Linked DNA regions of Homo sapiens: region 1 is linked to region 2. The links are contacts of gene promoters, found by promoter capture Hi-C in human tissues and cell types (Jung and others, 2019). All regions are on one chromosome and are shown on one strand. Each heading gives the region's core, a stretch centred on a gene start or on the middle of the fragment in contact. The rest is flanking DNA. Distances are from core to core; before and after follow the strand shown.

Region 1 (6,710 bases), core at 3,962-6,461, 240 kb before region 2:
TTTTTTACAATGCGGTGTTTCTCTGACCTGCTGAGTGTCAAAACAAAGTCTCATATTTAGTTGGCATTCAAAAATATTATTTGAATGAAGCATATGACTTTGACATCAATGCAAGGGCCATGAATAGCATAACATGAGCAACTTACTGGCTATTCTGGGAGATGTTGTAAGGCTGAACGCAAGTTCCAACAAGATTCCTGCTGTCAGAGTAGCATTTAACCCAACAATAGCCTTCCTCTTTGATGTCTGTGTTACTGTAACCCAATTTCATTCCATTTTTATTCTCCATTTCAGAAAATCAGTCAAGTGATACAATTCATATATACATTTCTAATGAAACACTTAGAATTATGAATAAATTACATAGCATTAAGAATTTCACATTTTCTTGTGTAGCTCTGTCAGAGCATGTGACCATGATTAAAGGCTATTTTGTTTGTTTTTGATACATAAAACTGTCTCTATATGGAAATAATATGAGACACAAATGCGAAACTTCTATAGTACAATAAACACTAAATGTATTTTCAAAGAATAAAACATATGACTATGACATGCATAGCTTATTTTGTCCACTAGCCGTGTAAACTAGAAAAAAAATTTGAAGAATATGTAAAAAATCTGATTTATTTTCTGTATATGCAAGTGAAAAAAGTCTCTGAAATTTCCTTTGAGGGGTTATTCTTTTTCTATCCATTTATTGGATCAAAAGTAGATTTGGATCATTATTGCTTTTTAAGAACTGTTAGCTCATGACCCTATTTTCTACTCATGTTGATAGGTGGAAGAGTGAAAAATGTTCTCACATTTTTCCTGGAAGTAAGGAAATTTTTGTTATAAATTTTCTATCATCTCAGAAATTATTCAATACAACCTTAAACAGCATGAAATTATAAGATTGATTATAGTAATAACAATAGCAGTAACAATTATATTGATTACTGCTTTTCAGCCCCATGGAAACTATCCCTGGGACATTATCCAAATGAGAAGAAAATGCTTCTAGTGAAATCCTATTCTACTGGGTCAGACAATATTGCTGACCTCCCATAGAGTTACTTTGCTGTATTTCCCCTGTTCAGCCCATTGTTGTAGTACACAGAATGCCCTGAGAGCATTGACTCAAAGAAGAGGTCATGGCGCTTTGTTTTGTTTTTTAACTTAGAGTCTGATTTTAACATTGCTCATTGGTTAGTTACAATCAGAAGTAGATAAACTAAAATTTGATTGGTTTAATTCTGTATATCGCAACAATAAAAATGAAACATCAATGTTAATGTAAGAAAAAGGGCCAACCTTCATAAAAGCAGTTGAGATAATTTAGCTTTTCTTACAACTATGACCAGAACTTTCAGAATGGTTATCTGACAACAATCAAGAAGAAAATGCATAAAAGGTGAGTCTGCAAAGTATAGTCTAAAACCTGGGACTCAGGATGGCATGATTCTGATCCTAGTCTTGGCACCAATTATGACAAAAATAACATATTCTGAATTTCTGTGCCTCCAAAATTGGAATACAGCGTTGCAGAATTGTAATGCCTCTTTCTGCTCCTTGTGTGATTTAATTTTTGTCCTCATTTTATTACATTTGGCGAGCTTGTACAAAACATCTGTAGGCACATATCATTGCCTGAAATTCTGTTTTATAAAAACAATATTGTTTTGGCCATTTCTTGAAAGGATGAGGTTTCACTGAAATTTATCTTCATATGTATATATATATGTGTGTGTGTATATATATATATATGTATAGAGAGAGAGAGAGAGAGAAGTATGTATACATAATGATATTGATATAAGACATATAGAAATATATAAAATGATATTTGTATAAAATATATACATTATATACAATATATACTATATATGTATGTATTATATATTTTATATATAATATATAATAAATAAATTAATATTTCATTAATATTTAAACATATACTTCTATATATTAATAAATATAAATAACAAATTATCAATAATCATATTGAAATATAAATAAAATAATATTTATTATTCATAATACATATAAATATAAAAATATATTTATTTATATTTAATATATAAATTTATGTAATATTTAAATATATACTCCTATATATTTAAATGTAATATTTAAATATATACTCCTATATATTTAAATGTAATATTTAAATATATACTTCTATATATTTAAATATACATACTTCTATATATTTAAATATTAAATGACACTTTTAGTCAGTTGAAACTACAGAATATTTTGCCTCATAATAATGTTTCTGTGTGTTTATAGTCCCTACTGCATTACAAATCCTTCAGTATAATGATGATAATAAAGAACACAATATTCCTATAAAAAGACAAGTGAAATGAGTTGAATGACTACAATTCACATTTTATTATCCAGTTTATCAAGGACTTTTAGGTCAGGCTTGTTGTACATGCATAACAAACTAGATGAAAGCAGAAAATTATGAATAAAAGAAGATTATAGATAATGCAAAGATTCATAGAAAAAGAGAGTTCACTTCTCTTTAAGTTTTAGGGATATAGATTATAAGATTTGTGAGAAGAAAGTTTGTTTTTATTACAGTTTTAATGATATGAATGTTGTGATGCTTAATTTTAAGTGTCAATTTGACTCTGTTAAGGGATGCTGGGATAGTTGGTAAACTATTTCTGGGTTGTCTGTGAGGGTTTTTCCAGAAGGATTCATATTTTAATCTGTAGACTGAGTAAAGATCACTCTTACCAGTGTATGTGAGCATCATTTAATCTGTTGAAGACCTAAATAGAACTAAATGGGGAAGGCAAAGGGAGTTTGCTCTCTGAGCTGGGATCTTCATCCTCTCCTATCCTCACACATCAGCATTCCTGGTTAGAGCATTTGGTCTCAGATTGAAACTTAACATCATTGACTCCCCTGTTCTCTAACTTTTGGGTTTGGACTGGAAGTACTAGACCAGCTTTCCTGGGCCTCTAACTTGCAAACAGAAGATCATGAGACTTCTCAGCCTCCATAATTGCATGAGTTCTTCCCTAACAGTAAATATTCTTCTGTATATCTATGTATATCCTATTGATTCTGTGAAATGCTTTATATGTGTGTCCCTGCCCATATCTCATGTCAAATTGTAACCCCTACTGTTGGAGGAGGGGCCTGGTAGAAGGTGATTGGGTATGGGGGCAATGTCTGATGGTTTGGCATCATCCTCCTACTGCTGTCTTGTGATGGGGTTCTCCCGAGATCTGCTTATTTAACAGTGTGTAGCACCTCCCTTGACCTCTCTCTCCTGCTGACCATGTGAAGATGTGCTTGCTTCTCCTTTGCCTTTCACCATACTTGAAAGTTTCCTGAGGCCTCTCTAGGAGAAGCCTGTGCAGCCCACAGAACTGTGAGCCAATTAAACTTATTTACTTTATAAATTACCCAGTCTCAGGTATTTCTTTATAGCAGTGTGACAATGGACTAATACAGAAAATTGGTACCAGAGAAGAAGGACATTGCTATAAAGATACTTGAAAATGTGGAACGACTTTGGAACTGGGTAACAGGCAGAGGTTGGAACAGTTTGGAGAGCTCAGAAGAAAAGAAGATGGGAGAAAGTTTGGAACTTCCTAGAGATTTGTTAAATTGTTGTCACCAAAACGCTGATAGTGACATGGACAATAAAGCCCAAATGAGGTGGTCTCAGATGGAGGTGAGAAACTTATTGGGAACTGGAGAAAAGGTCACACTTACTATGCTTTAGCAAAGAGACTGGCAGCACCGTGCCTGTGCTCTAGGGATCCGTTGAGCTTTGAACTTGAGGGAGACAATTTAGGGTATCTGGCAGAAGAAATTTCTAGGCAGCAAATCATTCAAGATGTAATATGGCTACTTCTAACAGCATACCCTCATATGCTTGAACAAAGAGATTATCTGAAGCTGGAACTTATATTTCCAGAGCATAAAAGGGAAACATAGCATAAAAGTTTGGAAAATTTGCAGCCCAGCCATGTCATAGAAAATGAAATCTCATTGTTTGGGGAGAAATTCAAGCCTGCTGCAGAAATTTGCATAAGTAGAGAGGAGCCAAATGTTAATAGCCAAGACAATGGAAAAATGCCTCCAAGTCATTTCAGAGACCATTGCAGCAGCCCTTTCACCACAGGCCTGGAGGCCTAGGAGGGAAAAATGATTTTGTTGGCCAGGCCCAAGGACCCACTGCTCTGTGCAGCCTTGGGACATGTTGCCCTGAGTCCCAGACACTCAAGCTCCAGCCATCGGTAAAAGGGCTCCAGATACATCTCAGGCTGATGTTCCCAAGTGTGCAAGCGAGGAGCTGCCAAGGTTTTCACATGGTGTTAAGCCTGTGGGTGCACAGAGGGCAAGAGTTGAGGCTTGGGAGCTCCTGCCTAGATTTCAGAGGGAGTAAGAAAATACCTAGATTTCCAGGCAGAAGTCTGCTACAAGTGTGGAGCCCTCATGGAAAACCTCTACTAGGGCAATGTGGAGGGGAAATGTGGGTTTAGAGCCCCCACCCAGAGTCCCTACTGAGACACTGCCTAGTGGAGCTCTGAGAAGAGGGTCACCATCCTCCAGACCCCAGAATGGTAGATCCACAGACAGCTTCCACTGTGTGCCAGGAAAAGCTGCAGATACTCAATGCAAGCCTGTGAAAGCAGCCAGGAGAACTATACCCTGCAGAGCCACAGAAGTGGAGCTGCCCAATGCCCTGGGAGTCTACCCATTGCATCGATGTGGCCTGGGTGTGAGACATGCAGTAAAAGGAGATTATTTTGAAGCTTTAATATTTAATGACTGCCCTGCTGGGTTTTGGACTTGTTTGGGGTCTTATAGCCCCTTTGTTTTGGTCAATTTCTCCCTTTGGAATGGGAGCATTTACACATTTACACCTTTACCCCCATTGTATCTTAGAAGTAAGTAACTTGTTTTTAAATCCCTTCAAAATAACAGATGCTGCATCACTAGAGCAGCAGCTTAGTAGAAGCCAGTGAATCTATATCTTCTGTAGCATGATGGGCAGCAGCAGCCATCTCCACAGCCTCTGTGGCCACAACCATATCTGCATCCTTCATAGCCGCAGCCATAGCCCAGTCTGCAGAAGCTGCCACATCCACAGCCGTAGCCATAGCACATGCCACCAAAGCCTCCACAGCCATAGCCCAGACCTCCACAGTAGCTGCCCTAGTAGCTCACGGTGTCAGAGATAGTGAGTTGGGTTTGCTGTCCCAGGCAAGGTCCTGAGTGTGAATATAGCATGTTTAGGGAACGCTTATATACCCTGAGCAGAACATGTGATAAACATGTGGCCATCCTTTTGCAGCATCCCAATTTATTTATCTACTCTATACAAATAATCAATCTGTTTGTTAGCACAAGGAGAGACACAAACTCATTAAAATCTTTGAGCTGGCTTAGCTGCATGGTTAGAATGCCCTTGAACTTATTACATTTTTTTTTTAAGATGGAGTCTTGCTCTTGTCACCCAGGCTGGAGTGCAATGTTGTGATTTCAGCTCACTATAAACTCCACCTCCTGGGTTCAAGTGATTCTCCTGCCCCAGCCTCCTGAGTAGCTGGGATTACAGGTGTCTGCCACCACTCTCAGCTAATTTTTATATTTTTAGTAGAGACAGGGTTTCACCATGTTGGCCAGGCTGGTCTCGAACTCCTGACTTCAGGTGATCCACACACCTTGGCTTCCCAAAGTGCTGGCATTACAGGCTTGCGCCACTGCGCCCAGCTGATACATTCTTTTTAATGATAAAATAGTCTGCATCTTCAAAGTTACACAATTTTTAAAAAATCCTAAATTCTTCATCACTATGCATATTGAATTATTTGTATTTGACACTGTGTTTTTATTAAATGTTTTCTCATTTCTCATTTTTACACCATTCCTTAGATTGTTCTATTTTACCTCCACCTAGATTCAAATAAATCGATCAAGTTTAAAACTTTTAAATCTAGTAAAGCCTTCAAATATCAAATATTTTTATTGCGTTGAGAAATTAAGGCTATTCCTCCTTCAAAAGAAAAGGAAGTTTTTGAATAAATAAATTTTCTTATCAGCTGTGGTAAACACAAAGTAATGGAAAATATGTATGTAGACATAATATAAAACTACTTTAATTTTCTATATCAGCTTGCAAAACATTGTTTTGGCTTATCAATGTAACAAAATTTATTCCAGAAACTGATATATTATCCAAGAGAATAAACTCAGTTTTACACCAGCCTGAACAGCAGTTCAAAGATATTCTCTTCAGGTGGGGCACAGTGGCTCACCCCTGTAATTCTGGAGGCCAAGGTGAGAAGATCACTTGAGATCAGGTATATTAGTTTGTTTTCACACTGCTGATAAAGACATACCTGAGACTGGGAAGAAAAATAGGTTTAATTGGACTTACAGTTCCACATGGCTCTGGAGGCCTCAGAATCATGGCAGGAGGTGAAAGGTACTTCTTACATGGTGGCGGCAAGAGAAAATGAGAAAGAAGCAAAAGCGGAAACCCCTGATAAACCCATCGGATCTCATGAGACTTACTCACTATCATGAGAATAACAAGGGAAAGACCAGCCCTCATGATTCAATTACTTCCACCTGGATCCCTCCCACAACACATGGGAATTCTGGGAGATACAATTCAAGTTGAGATTCGGATGGGGACATGGCCAAACTATATCACCAGGAGTTTGAGAGTAGCCTGGGCAACATAGGGA
Region 2 (6,842 bases), core at 3,516-6,015:
AATTTGGTACCTGAGCACAGTGGCTCACACCTGTAACTTCACCACTTTGGGAGGCTAAGGCAGGAGGATTACTTAAGGGCATGAGTTCCAGACTAGCCTGGGCAACATAATGAGACCCTGTCTCTACAAAATAAAATAAAATAAATTAGCAGAATGTGGTGGCACATGCCTATAGTCCCAGCTACTCAGGAGGCTGAGGTGGGAGGATCCCTTAAGCCCAGGAATTTGAGGCTGCAGTGACCTATGATCAGACCACTGCACTCTAGCCTGGGTGACAGAGTGAGATCATCTTTCTAAAAAAAATGTTTTTAATTGATACTTTATTTGAACCATCTTTTGCTGCAAATTATCCGTATTATGATGTATCATGTGTTTCTTTGCATATATGTCTCATGTTACCTATTTTAATATATGCAGTCTCTTTAAAAGTGAGAACCTTGTTATTATTTTTATTTTTTGTTTTATATTTTGCTCTGTACATTCTATACCCCTGCAAGCATCTTACTTTGTACAGGGAAATTAGAACTGCAATATGTATTTTATTGTGGATTTTTTTTTCTATCATTTCATACACTTAAGTATCTGTTCCTTTTCAGACTTTTGACTTTCATGTGACTGTAAGGAATTGTGGTTGCTATTTTTCTCTTGACCCAAAAATGCTGAGTTGCTCTGAAAAGTATTTCCTAACCATATAAGAATTCATTCGTATTCTGAAAATTTGTTTCTGCTTAATTTCCCGATTATTGATGACATATTATGTAATTATTTTCAGCTTTTCATTAGTAAAAATTCACCACATTAAGTCAAATGCAAAATTTATTGCAAATTTATTCATCTTTCCCATATTTTCCCTTTCATTTTCTCAGCTAAGGTCTCATGTTAATAGCAGTGATGACCCTGTGCCACTTTAAGTAAAATTCGGAATTTGTATACCCCTAGCCTTCATTTGTAAAGTATACAACTATGTCTTTGACCATAATAGCCCTCTCTGTAAAATCACCAATAAATTTCCAAAATATGTGATGGTAAAATTAAGTTTCATATTCTTCCCCCAGCTATTTTCTACTTCTTACCAAATATACTACTGACCTTTTAGGCCCATTTTTCTTTCTTGAATCAATGGTGTTATTTCTCTACCTGGAACATCATCAAATCTGAAAATTTCCATTCCCACCTCTGAAAGTGGCTTAACTCCTATGTTCTCCATCCTCATGAAGATTTCTCTACGTCAGGGGAAAGAAAATGTGAATGTTCACATTCATTTGCCTGCAAATTTTTTTAAATAGAAAGAAGAAAATAAGCAATTTATTATTCTACTAGATATTTTATAATTCACTTTGTTAGATTTAATTTATCTCATTCTCCAAAATATTCATGTAAAAATTAAATACGGTGATAATATTAATAGAAATACCTTTAGTTCAAAGTCAGCATCCATTTAATGTTCACATTTAAATGCATATATAATTTATAAGAGTAGATTATATGCAAAAAATATTTAATCATTATAGATTTATGTAAAAATATATGTTTAATTTTGAAAAAAAGATTGTATTGAAAATAAGTCATATTTCTGTTGTGTTTTCCCTTCAGTCTCAGAAGATGAGGTATTTTTTTCTTCCTTCAAATTATTAGCTCTCCACCAACGTGGTATCCTAACTTGTTTCTACTTTTATTGCTCTATGGCTCTATCTTCATCAGTCTCTTCAAATCTACTCCCTTCTTCTGCCTACTCTTCCCTAAGAGATTTTTAATGTTTTCTTTTGCCAATGCCAGTCACATTTCTTCTCCATGGTTATCGTTGACCTCTGCTGCCACAAGGTATCATTTCCTCTACTTCCAACCCTTTTCAACACCATCCTCATTCTCTTTTTACAACTGTACCTTTCATGTGTTTTCTTCATTTATTCCTCTGACTCTACCCAAACTCTAACTAAGGAGCCCTTCCTAGATTCAATTCCTTGACTTTCTCTCTCTAAATTCTCTTATTAATTTCCCATTTGTACTCCCACTACAATGTCTGACTTACAGAAAGTGATCCATTAAAACTTAAGGAATAAATGTGTGTGAGTAAATATTTTCTCTCACATTTACAGCTTTAAATAAAAAATTAATATCAGTTACTTTCAAATTGATATGTCGTGTACTCTCCTTAAATATACAAATCTTAGCTAGATAATTTTTTTGAATGTATTATTACCTCAAATCAACATATCCAAAACCAGATACATCTCTCTGGCAAAACTAAATTTTAAAAATATTTCTCCCTGTTAATAACATTTCCTTTCTTGATGAATACCCACATTCAAAAGTACCACATTTATGCATTTGTTTATGTCACTGAAACAAATCATTTTCCATACAAAATTTTGGTATCTATTTTCTTACTCTTACTGCAACAGGCTTAATTCTGGTCCTAATCTTCTCACTCTTGGACCCCCCCACCCCAATAAGTCCTTAGCTCCAGGAACTCAATGCATCTTTCGTTTCCACACTGTCCAACCTATTCTGCACATTGTTTCTAAATTTATATTTCCTACATATTACTTTTATCATGCATTTCTTCTGCTTAATATTCTGAATCTCCTACTGTGCTAATTCTATATCCTCTGCCTGGGCTCACAGATCTCTCATAATATACCTCTTCCCCTAACCATTCCAAATCTGTTTACCACTCTAAGTCATGGTAATCATCACATTATTTGTTAAATACATTCATGTGCAAGACACCAACCATTTCCCCTAAACAGCCGATTTAATGCCCATTCTGCCTCTGTCCCCAGTGACTCTCCCACCTTGAATTTCTGATTTTCTAATCTATTAATGCAGTTCTTCCAAGCCCAGTTCATTTCCCCTTCGACAGAAGCTTTCTGCAGTTCCCGGAGTCCTCATTATCTTCCTTTCCTATGAACTCCTGCCAGTCTTTTCATCTGTGACACATAAGCTGTTATATCTCAAGTTTTGTTCTTTTCTACAAATAGGTATGTTAGTCTTGATCTTCCAAATGGATGGTTAGTTCTTTGATCTCAGCAACTATTCTCATCTACACAACACTATCATGGTGCTGACCAAACACATATTAAGTGCTCGATAAATCCCTGTTGATCACCTACTGAACCCAGGTGAAAAAATATATTTTCCATTAATTCATTTGCTCCACTGCAATTTTTAAGAGTTAGAGTTTCTAAAAGTGGAGTGTATGGATCAGCAGTTATCAGCATCACTTGGGAATTTGTTAAAATTGCAGATTTTGAGGTTCTACCCAAAACCTACTAAATCAGAAGGTCTAGGAGTAGGACCCAAAAACTCTATGTTTTTCAAGCACTCTGGTTAATTTAATACACACTATCATTTCAGAACCACTGCCATAGATCAATCGTCTTGTCCTCATAACAAGGTCTCTAGATAAAATAGCAGTGGCCAACACAAAAGGTTAATGGCTTACTGAGCTTTTATTTTTGAGGACATTCTGACCTGTTTAAAACCAGACAAGTGGTGATTAGCAGTGTACTTTCTGTGATTCACAAAGCTTAGACAATAATGGAAACAGGCTATTTGAGCAATCAGTTATCTAAATGAATCTAAAAGGTTTTGCTGTGAAGGTTAATATTCCATGTTTTATCTAACATTTGCCTTGTACCCTCCGCCAAAATTGGTTTAATGTGCAGTTCTGAAACTGGAATCTAAAGTGCAGAGGTTATTGTGGAAAGCTCAATCATCTAGCTGCTACATAAGTCTGAATATTTGTAAAGGTTTTAGAACCCAAATGTTAGATTTTAAGTTTATCATCCACCATCTTTTATGCATATCTTACCAGCTCTGAATAGGGGTGAGATAAGGAACAGAGATCACAGACTCGAGCTGAGGACCCTAGAGAGACTATCTCATGCTCAGGTTTAAGAGAAATTCAGGGGACTCAATGTTGATCTGTATTCTGTTCAGGGGACAAAGTTACCCAAAGGGAAGCCATAAACCCCAGGGCCTTAGCAGTTAATCTCACTTCCACCTAGTTCAATGGTGTGTTACGGTCCTCCCAAGAAAAAATAACAGTAGGATGTGTGTGTCTACATGTAAGTATGTGTATACACATACCTACAGGATGCATGAAGGAAATACATACATACACACACACACACACACACACACAGAGAGAGAGAGAGAAGGAAGAGGTGGAAGAGTGAGGGAGAGAGAGGCAAAGAGGAATGAGAGAGAGAGGAGAGAAAGGGAAAGAGAGGGAGGAGAGAGAAAAAAGAGGGAGAGTGAGGGGGAGAGAGAAAGAGGAGAGTAGAGAGGGAGAGAAAAGAGAGAGAAAAGTGGGGAGGGAGAAAAGGAGGAGGAGTAGAGAGGAGAGAGGCCAGAAGGGAGATAAGCGGGGAGAGAGAGAAGAGAGAGAAGCAAGGAGAGGGAGAGAAATTGGGGGACAATAAAGAGAGAGAGAGAGAAAGGGAGGGAGGGATACAGAGAGACAGAGCGAGAGAAGAGGCAGATTTTAAAGCATTGGCTCACATGATTGTAGGGGCTAGCAAAATCAAAATCTGCTGAGCAGGCTGGAGACCCAGGGAAGAGCTGATCTTGCAACTTGAATGTGAACTCAGGTTGAAGGCAGATTTCCCTCTTCCTCTGGTAGACATCACCCTTTTCTCTTAAGGCCCTCAACTGCCTGGAGGAAGCTCACCCACATTATGGAAGGTACGTGACTTTTCTCAAGTCTGCTGATTAAATGCCAACCTTATCTGAAAAATATCATCATAGCAACCTTTAGACTGGTGTTCGACCAAACATTTGGTCTTTGTAGCTTAGCCAAGTTGACGCATAAAATCAGTCATCAACCGTAAGTCAGAAGCTGAACTGCCTGAATCCTCAGTCATTGTTATAATTTGCATTCTCCACACAAATTTAACTACAGAGATACTTTTGAACTTTAATCTCAATCAAATGGAAAGTACACATTTCCAGGTGGAAGAAAAGAAAGATGGTTTGGCAATTTGGGGAAAATTCTCACTTCTGTGGTCTGGGGCACAATTCTTAGCCAACTTTGAGGTGATAGGGATATCTTCTCAATCATGGATGTGCATTGTATTTCGTGGGAAAACTTTAATAAAATGCCAGTACTCCCATCTCAGACCAATAAAACCAAAATCTCAAAGGTGGGACTCAGGTATTGCCATTTAATGGAATCTGACATGCATTCGGATTTGAGTCACTGCTCTAAATAAAGGAAAGCTTCAAATAAATCTGAAAGTGCAATATCTGAGAAAAGCAATGAATCTGAAATCAAATCAGTCTGAAAGCACAATATCTGAGAAAAGCAATGAGTAGGTACAAGGGGATTGAAAGGCATGGGGAGTGGATGCTGCAAGGCTGAGAAACTTACAGGTAAAAACCATCTCCAACAATGGCGTGGCTGCATTGGAGGCTTTCCTTTCAGCTTCTCTGATCTGTTTTCTCTATTCCTTATCTTTTCTTTTCCATCTTCTCTTCCTTTTAAGTTTTAGGAATGGCAATGACATTGAATTAGGGTTGATGGTGGAGTTTTACCTTTGTTCTCTAACTACTTCTAAGTTTTGGAAGAAACAGGAGGACCCATGTTTCTTCCAAAACTTAGAGGTAGAATTGGAAAACGGGTGAATGTTTTCTTCCAGAACTTAGAGGTGAATGTGGGAAACAGATGAATGCTGGATTACGAAGTCCCAGTGAGGGAGTGGGCTTCAGGAGGTGAAGGTGTACTTCACTGGGATAGCACACATGAAAGGGTATTGAAGATTTGGCAAGGCTTGCTTTTTTGTGAAACATGGCTGGATAGGACTTCAACTTCACAGAGTTGTAGGCTATTCAAAAATAGTCCAGGAACCAGCAGCATTAGGATCACTGTAAACTTGTTAGAAAGGCAAATTCTCAAGCCCCACCCAGAAAAACTGAATCAGCATCTCTGGAATCAGCATGTCTGAGGCCCAGAAATCTGTTTCAGCACAGTCTCCAGTGATTCTTATGCATGCTGAAACTGGAGAACCATAGCTATAAAATAAATGAGTGAAGAGTCTGCTGTCTTGACTTCATCCTGTTTCCAGTCTATTCACTACGAGATTTTATTGGTATTTATTTTGGTGTATTTATTTATAACCAATACCCTTGAGAAATTTATTATTTATTTTTAATATTTTTAGCTGTTCTTTTAGGTTTTCTGAGTCAATAGCCAACTCACCTAGTCTTACATTAGCTGCATGCATTATTTCATCTTATTACCTTATTAATTTTTTTAAATGGTGATGGTGGACACCATTATCTTACTCATTTGTGGGAATTTTTAGGATTTCAACCATAAACTTGATGTTAAAATTTGTCTTGTAAAAGATAAATATTCCTCACAAATTTTACTAATCACTTTTTTTTTTTACTGTGAATGGACGCCGAATTTCATTTAAAAAGAACGGAAATCATAACAAACAGTCTCTCAGACCACAGTGTAATCAAATTAGAACTCAGGATTAAGAAACTCACTCAAAACTGCACAACTACATGGAAACTGAACAACGTGCTCCTGAATGACTGCTGGGTAAATAATGAAATTAAGGCAGAAATAAATAATTTCTTTGAAACCAATGAGAACAAAGACACAATGTACCAGAATCTCTGGGCTACAGCTTAATCAGTGTTTAGAGGAAAATTATTAGCACTAAATACCCACAAAAGAAAGTGGGAAAGATCTAAAATCGACACCCTAACATCACAATTACAAGAACTAGAGCAGCAAGAGCAAATAAATTCAAAAGCTAGCAGAAGACAAGAAATAACTAAAATCAGAGCAGAACTGAAGGAGATAGAGACACGAAAAACCCTTCAAA

The links. The method cuts DNA at HindIII sites, captures the fragments that hold promoters and counts their contacts. A contact is called where the count stands out against the background at its distance.
Region 1: the fragment with the promoter of KRTAP19-2 here is called in contact with a fragment that was not itself captured in region 2 in 1 of the 25 tissues and cell types used here (H1 embryonic stem cells).

What each region holds. Positions count from the first base shown.
Region 1 is chr21:30,482,225-30,488,934 of GRCh38, forward strand. It overlaps KRTAP19-2 (keratin associated protein 19-2), which reads right to left and starts at 5,212. Exons shown (of 1, transcript NM_181608.2): 1 at 4,819-5,212. The coding sequence starts at 5,124. The coding sequence ends at 4,966. The HindIII fragment of the contact is 4,878 bases long and covers 1,052-5,929 here.
Region 2 is chr21:30,721,011-30,727,852 of GRCh38, forward strand. It overlaps LOC105372773 (a long non-coding RNA gene), which reads right to left and starts at 4,736. Exons shown (of 3, transcript XR_937655.3): 1 at 4,507-4,736; 2 at 1,090-1,266. The HindIII fragment of the contact is 3,137 bases long and covers 3,198-6,334 here.